5 separate regions of the Homo sapiens genome follow, and regions 1, 2, 3 and 4 are each linked to region 5. Evidence: promoter capture Hi-C in 16 types of primary human blood cells and fetal thymus (Javierre and others, 2016). All regions are on one chromosome and are shown on one strand. The core of a region is centred on a gene start or on the middle of the fragment in contact, and the rest is flanking DNA. Distances in the headings are between cores, read along the strand shown.

Region 1 (2,700 bases), core at 15-2,514, 170 kb before region 5:
TGTACTAATTTACATTCCTACCAGCAGTGTATGAGTGTTCCCTTTTCACCACATCAATGCCAATGTCTATTGTTTTTTGACTTTTTAGTAATGTCATTCTTGCAGGAGTAAGGTTGTGGTTTTAATTTGCATTGTGGTTTTAATTTGCATTTCCCTGATGATTAGTGATGTAGAGCATTTTTCATATGTTTCTTGGCCATTTGTGTATCTTTTTTGAGAAATGTCTATTCATGTCATTTGCCTACTTAATTAATTAATTTATTTTGAGACAGGGTCTCCCTCCGTCACTCAGGCTGGAGTGCAGTGGTGCGATCTTGGCTCACTGCAGCCTCCGCCTCCCAGGTTCAAGTGATTCTCCTACCTCGGGATCACAGGCATGTGTCACCATGCCTGGCTGATTTCTTGTATTTTTAGTAGAGACAGGGTTTCACCATATTGGTCAGGCTGGTCTCGAACTCCCTACCTCAGGTGATCTGCCCACCTCGGCCTCCCAAAGTGCTGGGATTACAGGTGTGAGCCACTGCACCCAGCCATTTGCCCACTTTTTAATTGATTTTTTTTTTTTCTGATTTGAGTTTCTTGTGGTTTTTAGACACTAGTTCTTTGTTGGATATATAGTATGCAAATATTTTCTCCCATTATGTGCATTGTCTTTTTACTCTGATGATTATTACTTTTGCTGTGCAGAAACTTTTTAGTTTAACGAGATCCCATTTATTGATCTATTTTTGTTTTTATTGCATTCGCTTTTGGGGTCTTAGTCATGAAGTCTTTGCCTAGGCCAATGTCCAGAAGAGTTTTTCTGATGTTATCTTTAGAATTCTTATGGTTTCAGGTCTTAGATTTAAGTCGTTGACTCATCCTGAGTTTTTTTTGTATAAGATGAGAGATAGGGATCCAGTTTCATTCCTCTATGTGTGGCTAGCCAGTTTTCCCAGCACCATTTATTAAATAGGGTGCCCTTTACCCTATTTAAAAAATAAATATTTTTATATGCTTCATCAAAGATCCGTTGGTTGTAAATATTTGGCTTTATCTATGGGTTCTCTATTCTTTTCCATGGGTCTATGTGCCTACTTTTATATCAGTACCATTCTGTTTTGGTAACTATAGCCTTGTGGTACAATTTGAAGTCTGGTAATGTGATACCTCTAGATTTGTTGTTTTTGCTTAGGTTTGCTTTGGCCATTCAGGCTCTTTTTAAAAATTTCATATTAATTTTAGGATTATTTTTTCTAATTCTGTGAACAATGATGTTGTTATTTTGTTTGGGATTGCATTGAATCTGTAGATTGCTTTGGGCAGTATGGTCATTTTCACAATACTGATTCTTCTAATCCATGAGCATGGGATGTGTTTCCATTTGTTTGTGTTATCTGTGATTTCTTCCAGCAGTGTCTTGTTGTTCTCCTTGTAGAGAAATTTCACCTCCTTAGTTAAGTATATTCCTAAGTTTTTTATTTTATTTTATTTTTGCAGCTGTTGTAAAAGGGATTGAGTTATTGACTTGATTCTTAGCTTGGTTGTTGTTGGTGTATAGCAGTGCTACTGATTTGTATATACTGATTTTGTAACCTGAGACTTTAATGAATTTATTTATCAAATCTAAGAGTCTTTTGGAGGAATCTTTAGGATTTTCTAGGTATACAGTCATATCATCTGTGAACAGTGATAGTCTGACTTCCTCTTTCCCAATTTGGATGTCCTTTATTCCTTTCTCTTGCCAGATTGCTCTGGCTAGGACTTCCAGTACTATGTTTTTGTTTGTTTGTTTGTTTGTTTGTTTTTGTTTTTGAGACAGAGTCTCGCTCTGTCGCCCAGGCTGGAGTCCAGTGGCACGATCTTGGCTCACTGAAACCCCCGCCTCCCGCATTTAAGTGATTCTTGTGCCTCAGCCTCCTGAGCAGCTGGGATTACAGGCATGTACCACCACGCCTGGTTAATTTTTTTTGTATTTTTAGAAGAGACGGGGTTTTGCCATGTTGCCCAGGCTGGTCTCAAACTCCTGAGCTTAGGCAGTCCACCCGCCTCAGCCTCCCAAAGTGCTAGGATTACAGGCATGAGCCACCGCACCCAGCCCAGTGCTATGTTTAATAGAAGTAGTGAAAGTCGGCATCCTTGTCTTGTTCCAGTTCTTAGAAGGGAATGCCTTAAACTTTTCCCCATTCGGTATGATGTTGGTTATGGGTTTGTCATATATGGCTTTTATTATTTTGAGATAAGTCCTTTCTATGCCTGGTTTGTTGAGAGTTTTTTTTATCATAAAAGGATGCTGGATCTTATTGAATGCTTTTTCTGCAACTATTGAGATGATCGTATGGTTTTTGTTTTTAATTCTGTTTATGTGATATATGACATTTATTGACTTGTATATGTTAGACCATCCCTGCATCCCTGCTATGAAACCCACTTGATCATGGTGTATTACATTTTTGATGTGCTGTTGGATTTTGTTAGCTTGTATTTTGCTGAGGATTTTTGCATCTGTATTCATCAGGGACATTGGTCTGTAGTTTTCCTTATTTTTGTTATGTCCTTTCCTGGTTTTGTTATGAAAGTGATACTGGCTTCGTAGAATGATTTAGGGAGGATTTCCTCTTTCTTAATCTTTTGGAATAGTTTCAGTAGCTGGAGTGTAGTGGCGCGATCTCAGCTCACTGCAACCTCTGCCTGCTTAGGTTCAAGTGATTCTCCTGCCTC
Region 2 (2,700 bases), core at 150-2,649, 130 kb before region 5:
GCATTTGTAAGGCTAGGCCGGTCTGTTTACTGCTTTGGAATTCTCTCTCCTGGGGTGAACTGGTAACCTTATCAGTGGGTTTTACAAGCTTTTCTAGCCAAGAAAAGAAAATATGTACTTTGGAATCTCTTCTCATGGGGGCTTGGAGGAACAAAGAAAAGCCGAATGCATTTCTCAGGCTATAAATGGGAAACGAGGTGCATTTTTTTCAGATATTTATTAAGTTCTCAGCTCAGCTGTCATCTGGGAGGCCTTCCTTGGCCACCCCACCCACTCAGTTATCCCCCACCCCCTTACCTTGCTTGACTTTCCTTCACGGTGCTTGTCACCATTCAGAATTCTCCTGCTGGCTGCTGGCTGCCTCCCCACACTAGGATGTAGAGGCCATGAAGGCAGCCGCCATTCCTATCTTGTTTACTCCCATATGTACTAGAACATGGGGTACATAGTAGATGCTCAGTAAATATTTTCTGAATGGATGTCAGGTGGGGAGAGGTAGAGAAAAGAACGGTTAACATGCAGAGATTGGAATCGGACAGACCTGGGTTTGAATCCAAGCCTTCTACTTTTCTTTCTTTCTTTTTTTTTTTTTTGAGACGGAGTCTTGCTCAGTCACCCAGGCTGGAGTGCAGTGGCACGATCTCGGCTCACTGCAACCTCCGCCTCCTGGGTTCACGTCATTCTCCTGCCTCAGCCTCCCGAGTAGCTGGGACTACAGACGCCCGCCATGATGCCCAGCTAATTTTTTTTTGTATTTTTAGTAGAGACGGGGTTTCACCATGTTAGCCAGGATGGTCTCCATCTCCTGACCTCGTGATCCACCCGCCTCGGCCTCCCAAAGTGCTGGGATTACAGGCGTGAGCCACCGCACCCTGCCCAAGCCTTCTACTTTTCAGCTGCTGTGCTCAGAATTGAGAAAACCTGATGGTTTCCTCCTTTATACAAAGCATACAGCCATCAGCGACAGAAATCTCAGCTAGGCCTTTCTTTTATGGGGAGAAACTGAAAGGGCCTGTCTCTGAAATTTTGAAAGAGTCCGGGTGAGCCACCATCACCCATAGTTGTACCTCAAAAGCAAGTGCAGGGAAGAGAGGAATTTTGTGAAGATTTTGAAACACCTGTCATGGGCCGTGGGTTCATTTGTGCCCTGCGTATGGCAAGGTCTGTTTTGCCCACTGACGGGAGCTGCCGTTTCCTGTAGCTGGTTTACAGGCCCCAGCAGGAAGTCCCAGATCTGGAGGCAGCATAGGAATGAGAAAATTCTGGTCTCTTGTTAGAAATCAGAGCAGCAGACCTAGAGAAGGTGTATTCAGTTCTTGGGCACACAGTTAGCTGTGTGTCCTTGGAATTGTTACTGAACCGCTCTGAACCTCAGTTTTCTTATCTATAAAATGGGCTCAATACTTGCTTCTGGGAGTAGCAATGGAAGATTAAATGAGATAAAATATGTGATCACATCTGGCAAAAGGGCTGGTACATGGAGGTGCTCAATAAATACTGGCACCATCGGGCACACTGGCTTGTGCTTTTAACCATAGCACTTTGGGAGGTCGAGGCAGGAGGATCACTTGAAGCCAAGAGTTCAAGACCAGCTTGGGCAACGTATCGAGACCCTATCTTTTTTAAAAAAAAATTGTAAAAATCAGCCAAGTGTGGTGGCACACACCTGCTACTTGGAAGTCCCAGCTACTAGGGAGGCTGAGGTGAGAGGATCACTTAAGCCTAGGAGTTTGAGGCTGCAGTGAGCTACTATCATACCACTGTACTGCACTCCTGTCTGGATGACAGAGCAAGACTCTGTCTCTAAAAATACACAGATACAAATAAATACTGGCTTATTCTCCAGTTCTTAACTGAAATCCTTTCACAGGACAAGAAACAAGGCCCTTTACTACCCATGAATGTTGGTAGTTCTCAGGCCCCCTTCTTGAGTCCAGGAAAGGAATCTGTCAGGAGAATGTTGCTGATCCTCTTTCGGTTCCAAGAACTACCAGAAAATGTAGAACTACCAGAAAATGTAGATGGTTTCACATGATTCTAAATGGATTTCCAAAGCAGTCTATGCCCACAGCTGGTTTCTCCAGAAATGACAACACTGCCTGGAAAACAAGACTCCTGCCCTCCTGGAGCCTTTGTTCTTGTGCTTGGCCCAGGGCCTCCCTGTAAGCCCCAAAGGCTCTGAAACCCATCACCCAAATCCCCTTGTGGATGCAGAGACGCCACTAAGCAGTCTTTAGATGGAGATTATCAAGGCTGAACTTCCAGATTTCAAATAGTATCACCTCCCTGGGAAACCAGCACTTGGAGATTCCTGCGTTCCATGTGCCTTGCAGGATCTCTCTGCCACTTGCATTGGTATTTTCTTTGTTTTCACTTAAACCTGTTTCTTTAAAAAAAAATTGTTAAAGTTTGGGTAAAAGAACTGGTTCCGCCTCTTTCATGTTTCCAAAGGCTCCAGGCTCTGCTGGGGCAGCTTTAAAGCAGGTCATCCATTCCTTCTAGCAGACTGAGCCTTCAGGGGGTGGGAATTTGGACATTTCTCATTTTCAAAGAGAAGCAGACATAAGGATGGGCCACTTGAGCCAGGCACAGGGCAGCAGCCGGCCTTCGTTTGATGCTGTGTGTGCCACATGCTGTCCAGAGGTGCTGGGTCTATGTCGTGTTGGTTCATTCATTAGACAGTAGAGCAGCCTGGTGAGA
Region 3 (2,722 bases), core at 107-2,606, 220 kb before region 5:
TTACAGGTGTGAGCCACTGCACCTGGCCCACAATTATCTTTCAAGAGGTGTTGCTTTTATCAACCCCATTTTATAGATGGGGACCAGGCTCTGAGTTTCTTCATCAGTAGTAACCCCAGGCTTTGGGGTACTGTGAGAACCCGGCAGGACACCATGAATCCCGGAAGGCTCAGAACCAGGCTCTGGAGGAGTTTCCCTAAATTGAGGCCAGCCTTAGTCTGTTGGCCTTAGCAAAAGCAGGAAGGGCCTGTCTAGACTGAGTACTTCCTAATTCTAGATGTTACTGCCATTGGCCTGCTTGGGGGCCGGTCCTGGACCAAGAGGGTGCCGTGCTGGGCTGGAGAGCTTCTCACCAAAAGCAAATGGGGTGTGAGGAACATGTGTTCTCTGCCGGGCCTCAGCACATGGGCATTCTGTCGTGATGCTTGCTGTAGCCAGCAGCCTGGGGCGGGGGCACTGCTGAGTAAACTAGGAGGGCAGCTGAATTCTGAGAAGCAGAGAGGTAGGTATGGGCCCCTGGCCTCTTGAGCCAGGGAGAGGAGAGGGTTTCTGAAAAAGAGAGATACCAAACAGGGCCCAAGCACTGACACAGGAGACTCCTGTGATGGTTCAGGTCTCCCCCATCAGACCAGGAGTTGCTGAATCCGGGGTGGTCTGTTTCCCTCTTCAGGCTGGAAGCTCTGAAGGGCAGAACTCTCGCTCCTCTGACACATCGGGAGCTCCTGTGTGCAGGGCCCTGTCTCCCACCTTGGGCTGAGGCTTCTAACGGCAGGGCGTCTCTTCCCTCCAACTAGGGCACCTGAAGGGCTAAGTGTTCCAAGACAGCAGTGTCAGCAAAGGCTGCGCAGATTTGAGGAGTGGGACCGGCAGAGCTGGATGAAACCTGACTATGCTGAAGGGGAAATGGAGACCCCGGGAGGGGCAGGGACCTGCTGAGTGCCTCCCCCAGGCAGTAGCTGACCTGGACCGCATCCCGGTACTCCTGCTGAGGTAGGAGGATTTGGGGTAAAGAGACAAAGTGTGGCCTTAGGAATACAGCCCCCAGAGCCAGGCAGGAGGGGGCAGCCCCGTAGGGCTCAGGTTCAAGCATGAGGCTGCCAATACTGCCCCTTGGAAGCGCCTCTGTTGTTCTGTCCTGGATGTTTGAGTCCTTGGCCAGCTTCCTGGGCAACGGCCTCATCCCGCTGAGATGGACAGATGTGCACAGCTGGGGGAGGGGCTTGGTGAAATCCAGCCCCACCCAGCGCAGGCCTGGGCTTCCCAGGGGTGGAACTTATCTGGGTTCTGGTCCTGATCTCTGCCTTGGCCCTGTTGTGCAGCCCTGGGCAGTGCCATGGCTTCCCCTTGGGCCTCAGTTTTCTTGTCTCTCAAATAAGGGAAGCTCTTCATTCTTTCATCAGACATTGACTGAGTTGGTACGTCCTTGGCCCACTGACTCCAATATTTGGGGATGCATTATCTGGTTCTAAGATACTTCCCCCGCTCTATTTTAAAATTTATTTCAAAAAATTATGGTAGAATGGTCTGGGCGTGGTGGCTCACGCCTGTAATCCCAGCACTTTGGGAGGCCAAGGCGGGCAGATCACTAGATATGGAGATCGAGACCATCCTGGCGAACACGGTGAAACCCCGTCTCTACTAAAAATACAAAACTTAGCTGGGCATGGTGGCATGCACCTGTAGTCCCAGCTACTCAGGAGGCTGAGGCAGGAGAATCGCTTGAACCTGGGAGGTGGAGGTTGCAGTGATCCGAGATCGTGCCACTGCACTCCAGCCTGGCGACAGAGCGAGACCCCATCTCAAAAAAAAAAAAAAAATTACCATTTTGACTTTTTAAAGTATACAGTTCAATGGCATTACATACACTGACATTGTTGTACAGCCTTCCCCACTGTCTATCTCCAGAACTTTTTCATCACCTTAGACTTGAATCCCCATCCTTTTAAAAATAACAGCTTTATTGTGATATAATTCACATATCATACAACTCATTTAAAGTATACAATGAGCCGGGTACGGTGGCTCACATCTGTAATCCCAGCACTTTGGGAGGCCGAGGTGGGCGGATTACCTGAGGTTAGAAGTTCGAGACCAGCCTGGGCAACATGGTGAAACCCCGTCTCTACTAAAAATACTAAAATTAGCTAGGCGTGGTGACGCAGGCCTGTAGTCCCAGCTACTTGGGATGCTGAGGCAGGAGAATCACTTGAACCCGGGAGGCAGAGCTTACAGTGAGCCGAGATCGTGCCACTGCACTCCAGCTTGGGGGACAGAGTGAGACTATCTCAAAAAAAAAAACAAAAATTCCATTCCACTCTCTTTTTGTTTGCATGGTTTCTGAGAAGTTGGATATAATTATCTTTGCTCCTCTGTAGGTGAGGTGTTTTTTTTCCTTTGGCTTTTTTGGGGATTTTTTTTTTTTTTTTTGGTGGAGTCTCACTCTGTTGCCCAGGCTGGAGTGCAGTGGAGCCATCTCAGCTCACTGTAACCTCCATCTCCCAGGTTCAAGTGATTCTCGTGCCTCAGCCTCCCGAATAGCTGGGATTACAGGAGCCTGCCACCATGCCTGGCTAATTTTTTATACTTTTTTAGTAGAGATGGGGTTTCGCCATGTTGGCCAGGCTGGTCTCGAACTTCTGACCTCAAGTGATCTGCCCACTTCAGCCTCCCAAAGTGCTGGGATTATAGTCGTGAGCCACTGAGCCCAGGTTTTTTTGGGATT
Region 4 (2,700 bases), core at 96-2,595, 150 kb before region 5:
AAAATCTATTTCTCTTACACATTCAAAAAATCTCCTCATGTGCCTTTGTGCACACACAAATTTAGTGAGACATCACCAAATGTGTATGTGGTTGCCATGGAAATGTCTTCTAACGTGGCATTCCAAGAGCAAAGAGAAGGGAAGTTTTCTTTGAAAAGAAAAGCAGAGCAGAACTTGGCTAATAGTCATCACACTAATCCCCAAACTGTCATTCTTCCCTGACTACCTGTCTTCTACTTCCTGTCAGCAACTGAACAGGGGAAGGCAAATCAGTGTGCAGGACTGGGTCTCTCACATTTCCTTAGGAATTTCACAAGCATTGTTCTTAACACTTATGTCAAGCACGTACCAGGAAGGACACCAGGTCTTCTTGATTTGAGTTTGCACCTAGAAGCTTAGAAGGTACCTTCCTGGACTGTCTAGCACTTGCCACGCATGAGTACTCAGAAGAACTCCTGGCACCATTTCTCTGTGGCAAGTGCAGGCTGAATAGGGCTTCTGAAGAGGCTTTGTGTTTCCCACCAGAGCTTTTGTCTTTGTGACAAGGGCATGATGTGACAGCATATAGAGCATGCCAATACGAAGTCACTTTTTGAGTGTCGGAAATCCCAAATGTTTCTTAGTGGTGGTGTGAGTCCACAGTGTGGGACCTAAGGCTGGTTGGATGCCTCTGGTCTTCCCGGCTCAGGCTCAGGTTGATCCTCACCCTCACTCTTGTTTTCACTTGTCCTCTTGACTTTCTTAACTGAGCCTTTCTGTGGGCAATGAGGTCCTCATATTTCTGGACTTTACCAGCAGTCTCTGAGGGGATCCTTTGTCCATATTAGCGGACCCTTTGACTGGGTCACTGGGCTGCCTTTCCCCAGTTTTGGGGCTGGGTAGCAGTCCTTTTTCTTTTTTGGAGATAGGGTCTCACTCTGTCGCCCAGGCTGGAGTACAGTGGCGCAATCTCAGTTCCCTGCAACCTGCCCCTCCCGGGTTCAAGCAATTCCCCTGCCTCAGCTTCTCGAGTAGCTGGGATTACAGGTGTGTGCCACCATGCCTGGCTAATTTTTGTATTTTTAATAGAGACAGGGTTTCACCATGTTGGCTAGGCTGGTCTGGAACTCCTGGCCTCAAGTGATCCGTCTGTCTCAGCCTCCCAAAAGTGCTGGGATACAGGAGTGAGCCACCGTGCCCGGCCTGGCCTTGTTGCTTTTAGTATTGAAAACTCTAGGATGCTCCATCTTGTCTGTGGTTGTACTGGCTCCCGAGAAGACCTTTAGCCACTGGCCTGGCTGAGTTGCCAAAGTTGGGGGAGGGGGCAGTGCACAGACCCAGTTTCTGACACTCAAAGCAGGGGCTATAAATTCTGTACACTCCCATGTCCACAGCTCTGCACCACTGACTGGGGCGTGTGGGTCTCCACTTACTGTGGGTCAAGCAGCAGGTCATTTCTGCCAAAAGACAATGTCCTTCTTGCTTTTATAAATCAGGTCCTTAACATTGTTTCTTACCCAGTGTTTATTTCTCTGGCTCTAAAGGGATTAATCGAGGCATCTGGCTCATGGCTGGGCTGTGACCTTAATGAATGTGTGTAAATTTGACCAAGAGCTGAGGAAATCGTACCAGCAACTCCGTAGGGGTTCAGAGCCTTTTATTACCAAATACAGTGTCCAGTGTTTGCTCTTCTGAGGCTGCTGCAGGTGGCCACTGCTCCAGTCTACTTCCACGTAACTCTTGCTTCTGAGGTTGTTCTGAGGTTATTTGGGGTCCTGTTTGGGGAGCTCACGACCCCCCGCAGAGAGAGCAGGTCCAGGTATGGCCTGCTTGACTCTGTGGCCTCTCCATGGCCTAACCAAATCTCTCCAGCAAGGGACAGGGCTTTTAACAATAGTAAATTCTCTTTGGGATAATAGAGAACTTGCTTTGACATAGTGTGTTCTCATTCTTTCTTTCTGCTGTTTTAGACACCGATAAATCTACCAAACTTGGATGTATAAATGGCTATTAGGAGAGCTGGCTGCCCACTTTCACTCTTGGCTTGTGCAAGTAAATATCAATTTAGTCCTTACAGAAGGAGAATAAAGGAGACTTGGTTGTCTCCCTAATCCACAAACCCTGTAATTCTCACCTGGAAAATCTAGCTCTCCTATTTCAAATCAGTTTTAATAGCAAAGGCTAAAGGGAGGCTTTATTGCTCTTATCCAGGCTTATTTTTAAACTTTTTTTTTTACTTATTCATTCAGTAAGTAAGAACTCCTCCAAGGAGACCTGGAGGGGGTTGGCTTAGGAGAAGGGGAGAAGGTGAGTAAGTGGAAGCTTGGTAGGAGAGATTGCCACTGGGTGAACACTCACAATAGGGGCCGCTCACCAACTGAACAGGTGTTCTGGAAATCAGCAGATCCTGAGGACCCGGGACGGCTACTGCAATTCTAGAGCACCAGTGGGGAATCCTCTGCCACACTTTCTTCTGTCCCAGAGGAGAAGCGGGCAGACTGGCCCTGGTTGGAGACTCCTGACAGTGACCAGCCTCAGCTGGCCAGAAAGACAGACTTCCCTGAGTGACAGGCAGGAAGGCCCTGGTTGGTCCCGGCCTGCACTGGCCTTGCACGGCTCTTCAGCTGGCCTGTAAGCCTCTCCTGAGCTCACTGCCTTGTTGCTGGCGCCTGGGCTGCTCATTGCCCTGCAAGTGGTATGAGTGGGATGGACTCCTGTTTC
Region 5 (2,706 bases), core at 173-2,672:
ATTCATCTGACAGACACTGAGGAGTGCCCACGATGTGCCACGCCCTGTGTGGGCTCTGGGAAGGCCTCACCTGGTGCTGCCATGGCTGGCCACCAAAGAAGAACAGGATGGGCAGTGGAGGCAGGACCCCACCCCCAACTCAGTCGACCGGGTCATCCCGTGGGAAGCCTGGGAGGCAGGATGGCAGGAGATTTGGACCCATAGACCTGGGTGCCAGAGGTCAGGCTTCTTCATTTGAAAACCAGGGAAGCAGTCTCTACCTCACAAGGTGGCTTGAGAACAGAGTGAGAGAATGTGTAAATCACCCCACCTGAAGTCCAGCACATGGGCAGAGCTCAGCATCCTTTGGATCCCTCAGGCCTGACAGGTGCCCCTGCGCTGGGGGGGTTGGTGGGGCTCTGCAAAGGCAGGCACTGCTCACCTCTGGGCTCAGAATTCTTGTCTAGAGGCTTCTGCAGCTGCCACCCTCGCCTGAGAAAATGCAGGTAGAGACATCTAGAGCCACCCCATGGTAACTGGGGGCTTTGAAAGAATGGAAGAGAGCCCCAAGGAACCAAGGTCCTGGGGATTGACAGGCATGAAAATATGTCCTCAACACCACCCACCCCTATTTCCAAGGCCCTCCTCCAAGCATGCCGCATGCTGTTCTCCAGAAAAGCCAGGGCCTCTGGTAGCTCCAGCTGCTGAGGGGCTGGAGCCTCGCCTTCCCCTCACCAGACCAGAGCCCGGAGGGTGGGGGTTGGGGGGCTCTTTTAACTCCTTGGTGGAGATGAGGAAATTTGGGCCCAGGGAAGTGCAGGTTCAGAGCTGCACCTGCTGTGCCTGGAACAAGGCCAATCCCCATAACCCATGCATCTGCGGAGGTGGCCCCCCAACTGCACATGAGGGGAACAGGGGCTGGGCTTTCTTTTTAATTTGTCTTGCTCTAGATGACAGAGGAACTTTTAGAAAACTGGTGGGATAAGGATGGACGGATGCCCCTCAGCAGTCTCTGGCCTCGTGCCCGGCTGCCAGCAGAGGAGGACACGAGGCCTCAGAGGCCCCCGACGCCCCTTCTCCAGGAAAGCACAGGGTGTGTGGCTTCTCCCCAGCCCCTTCTTTGTCCCAGTCCCCAGTCTGGAATCGCTCTCTGGGCTGGGCCAGGCAAGTGGGCCGCAGAGGCCTGGCTTAGCTTTGGGAACGGAAGCACGGGAAGGGGCGCGGAGAGGCAGGAAGCGGCCTGGGGAGGCTGGGGTGGCCGGGACTACGGACCCGACCGCATAGACGCGATCAGCCCCTCTTGGCGTTCCGGTGTAGCTGACCCCGCCCCGGGCTCTGGCCGGGCTGCGAAGCCGGGAACCAGCGACCCCCCGCCCAGCCCCTGCGGCCGCCCCGCCCCTCCCCGCCCCGGCCGCCCCGCCCCCGGCCCCGCCCCGCTCTTTCGCTTCCCGGGCCGCCGGCAGCCGCCGCCAGCCGCAGCCATGGGCCGGGCCCGGCCGGGCCAACGCGGGCCGCCCAGCCCCGGCCCCGCCGCGCAGCCTCCCGCGCCACCGCGCCGCCGCGCCCGTTCCCTGGCGCTGCTCGGAGCCCTGCTGGCCGCCGCCGCTGCCGCCGCCGTCCGGGTCTGCGCCCGCCACGCCGAGGCCCAGGCGGCCGCGCGGCAGGTCCGGGCCCGAGCTGGCTGGGGCGGGAGCGCGGGAGCGGGGACTGAAGGACCCAGCCTCGGCAGCAGGGGGGACATGGGCATGGACGAGTCGGGGGAGGCGGAGGGCGGAGGGGGACTGGACGGGAGGGAGCACGGGAAGGAGGGGACACGGGAGGCGGGTGGGGGGTGCCTGGGGCCGGGCTGATGGGGGGAAGGCGAACGGAGGCCAGTGTGGGGCTGGGACAGACTGGAGGGGTCTCTATCCAGAGGGGTGACCTGGACACAGTGAAGCTGGTTCCCGCAGAGTCTTAAAGGGTTACTGGGGAGCCCTGGGACAGTGAGGAGGGGACACAGGAGAGGACAGAAGGTGCAGGAGGAACAGGGCCAAGCAGCCAGGGCCAGGCGGAAGGCGGAGTGGGGACAAACTGGGAGGGGGCAGTCGGACCAGACAGTGGATGAGCAGGGACCAGGAGGGACTGGAGGCTCTGGGGCAGTTCAGAGGCAACATTTGCACAGATGGACCGGGAGGCACTGGGAGAGCTCAGGAAGATGGTGGGAGAAGGGGCTCCATGCGGAAGCAACTGCCTGTTGGGGACCAGGAGACCAGGCCGCCAAATGGTGCCCAGCCCAGTCTCTCCTCCCAAGCAGGAACTGGCGCTGAAGACCCTGGGGACAGATGGCCTTTTTCTCTTTTCCTCCTTGGACACTGACGGGGATATGTACATCAGCCCTGAGGAGTTCAAACCCATTGCTGAGAAGCTAACAGGTACCAGGAGAGACTGGCGGCTGGGGAGGAGGGCGCCTTGGCCAACGGTGTCTTCACTGAGCAGGAGCGGCCGTCTGGAGTGGAGGGAAGCTCGTGGGATCTCAGAGGCCCTGGACTCCTCCCAGCTCTGACACTTTGTAGCTGGTGGCTTGGGCGAGCTGCTCCAGCAACCCCTGAGCCTGTTTTTCTCAGACTTGTGAGCAATAATACCAGCTAACATTCTTTGGTCTGCGAGGTAGCTCACGCCTGTAATCCCAACACTTTGGGAGATGGAAGGATCGCTTGAGCCCAGGAGTTCAAGACCAGCCTGGTCAAC

What was found. Contacts are between HindIII fragments. The CHiCAGO score rates a contact against its expected background, and 5 or more counts as called.
Region 1: a contact is called between a fragment that was not itself captured here and the fragment with the promoter of SELENON in region 5, in 8 of 17 cell types (non-activated CD4 T cells, naive CD4 T cells, activated CD4 T cells and 5 more). The highest score is 13.3, in non-activated CD4 T cells.
Region 2: a contact is called between a fragment that was not itself captured here and the fragment with the promoter of SELENON in region 5, in 4 of 17 cell types (naive CD4 T cells, non-activated CD4 T cells, activated CD4 T cells and 1 more). The highest score is 8.2, in naive CD4 T cells.
Region 3: a fragment that was not itself captured here is called in contact with the fragment with the promoter of SELENON in region 5 in 13 of 17 cell types (naive CD4 T cells, naive CD8 T cells, activated CD4 T cells and 10 more); the score reaches 15.0 in naive CD4 T cells.
Region 4: a contact is called between a fragment that was not itself captured here and the fragment with the promoter of SELENON in region 5, in 6 of 17 cell types (non-activated CD4 T cells, naive CD4 T cells, total CD4 T cells and 3 more). The highest score is 9.2, in non-activated CD4 T cells.

What each region holds. Positions count from the first base shown.
Region 1 is chr1:25,629,189-25,631,888 of GRCh38, forward strand. All of the region lies in intron 1 of MAN1C1 (mannosidase alpha class 1C member 1), which reads left to right. Among named protein-coding and RNA genes, the nearest start is that of MAN1C1, 14 kb to the left of the region's middle. The HindIII fragment of the contact is 6,918 bases long and covers 1-2,700 here.
Region 2 is chr1:25,667,981-25,670,680 of GRCh38, forward strand. The region is part of intron 1 of MAN1C1 (mannosidase alpha class 1C member 1); the gene reads left to right. Among named protein-coding and RNA genes, the nearest start is that of MAN1C1, 53 kb to the left of the region's middle. The HindIII fragment of the contact is 2,626 bases long and covers 87-2,700 here.
Region 3 is chr1:25,580,783-25,583,504 of GRCh38, forward strand. It overlaps a transcript of LDLRAP1 not described here. Among named protein-coding and RNA genes, the nearest start is that of MAN1C1, 35 kb to the right of the region's middle. RefSeq lists an enhancer at 768-1,616. The HindIII fragment of the contact is 5,056 bases long and covers 1-2,722 here.
Region 4 is chr1:25,648,755-25,651,454 of GRCh38, forward strand. The region is part of intron 1 of MAN1C1 (mannosidase alpha class 1C member 1); the gene reads left to right. Among named protein-coding and RNA genes, the nearest start is that of MAN1C1, 33 kb to the left of the region's middle. The HindIII fragment of the contact is 1,907 bases long and covers 393-2,299 here.
Region 5 is chr1:25,798,771-25,801,476 of GRCh38, forward strand. SELENON (selenoprotein N) reads left to right here and starts at 1,423. Exons shown (of 12, transcript NM_206926.2): 1 at 1,423-1,643; 2 at 2,273-2,390. The coding sequence starts at 1,461. RefSeq lists an enhancer at 617-1,338 and a silencer at 1,148-1,287. The HindIII fragment of the contact is 6,547 bases long and covers 1-2,706 here.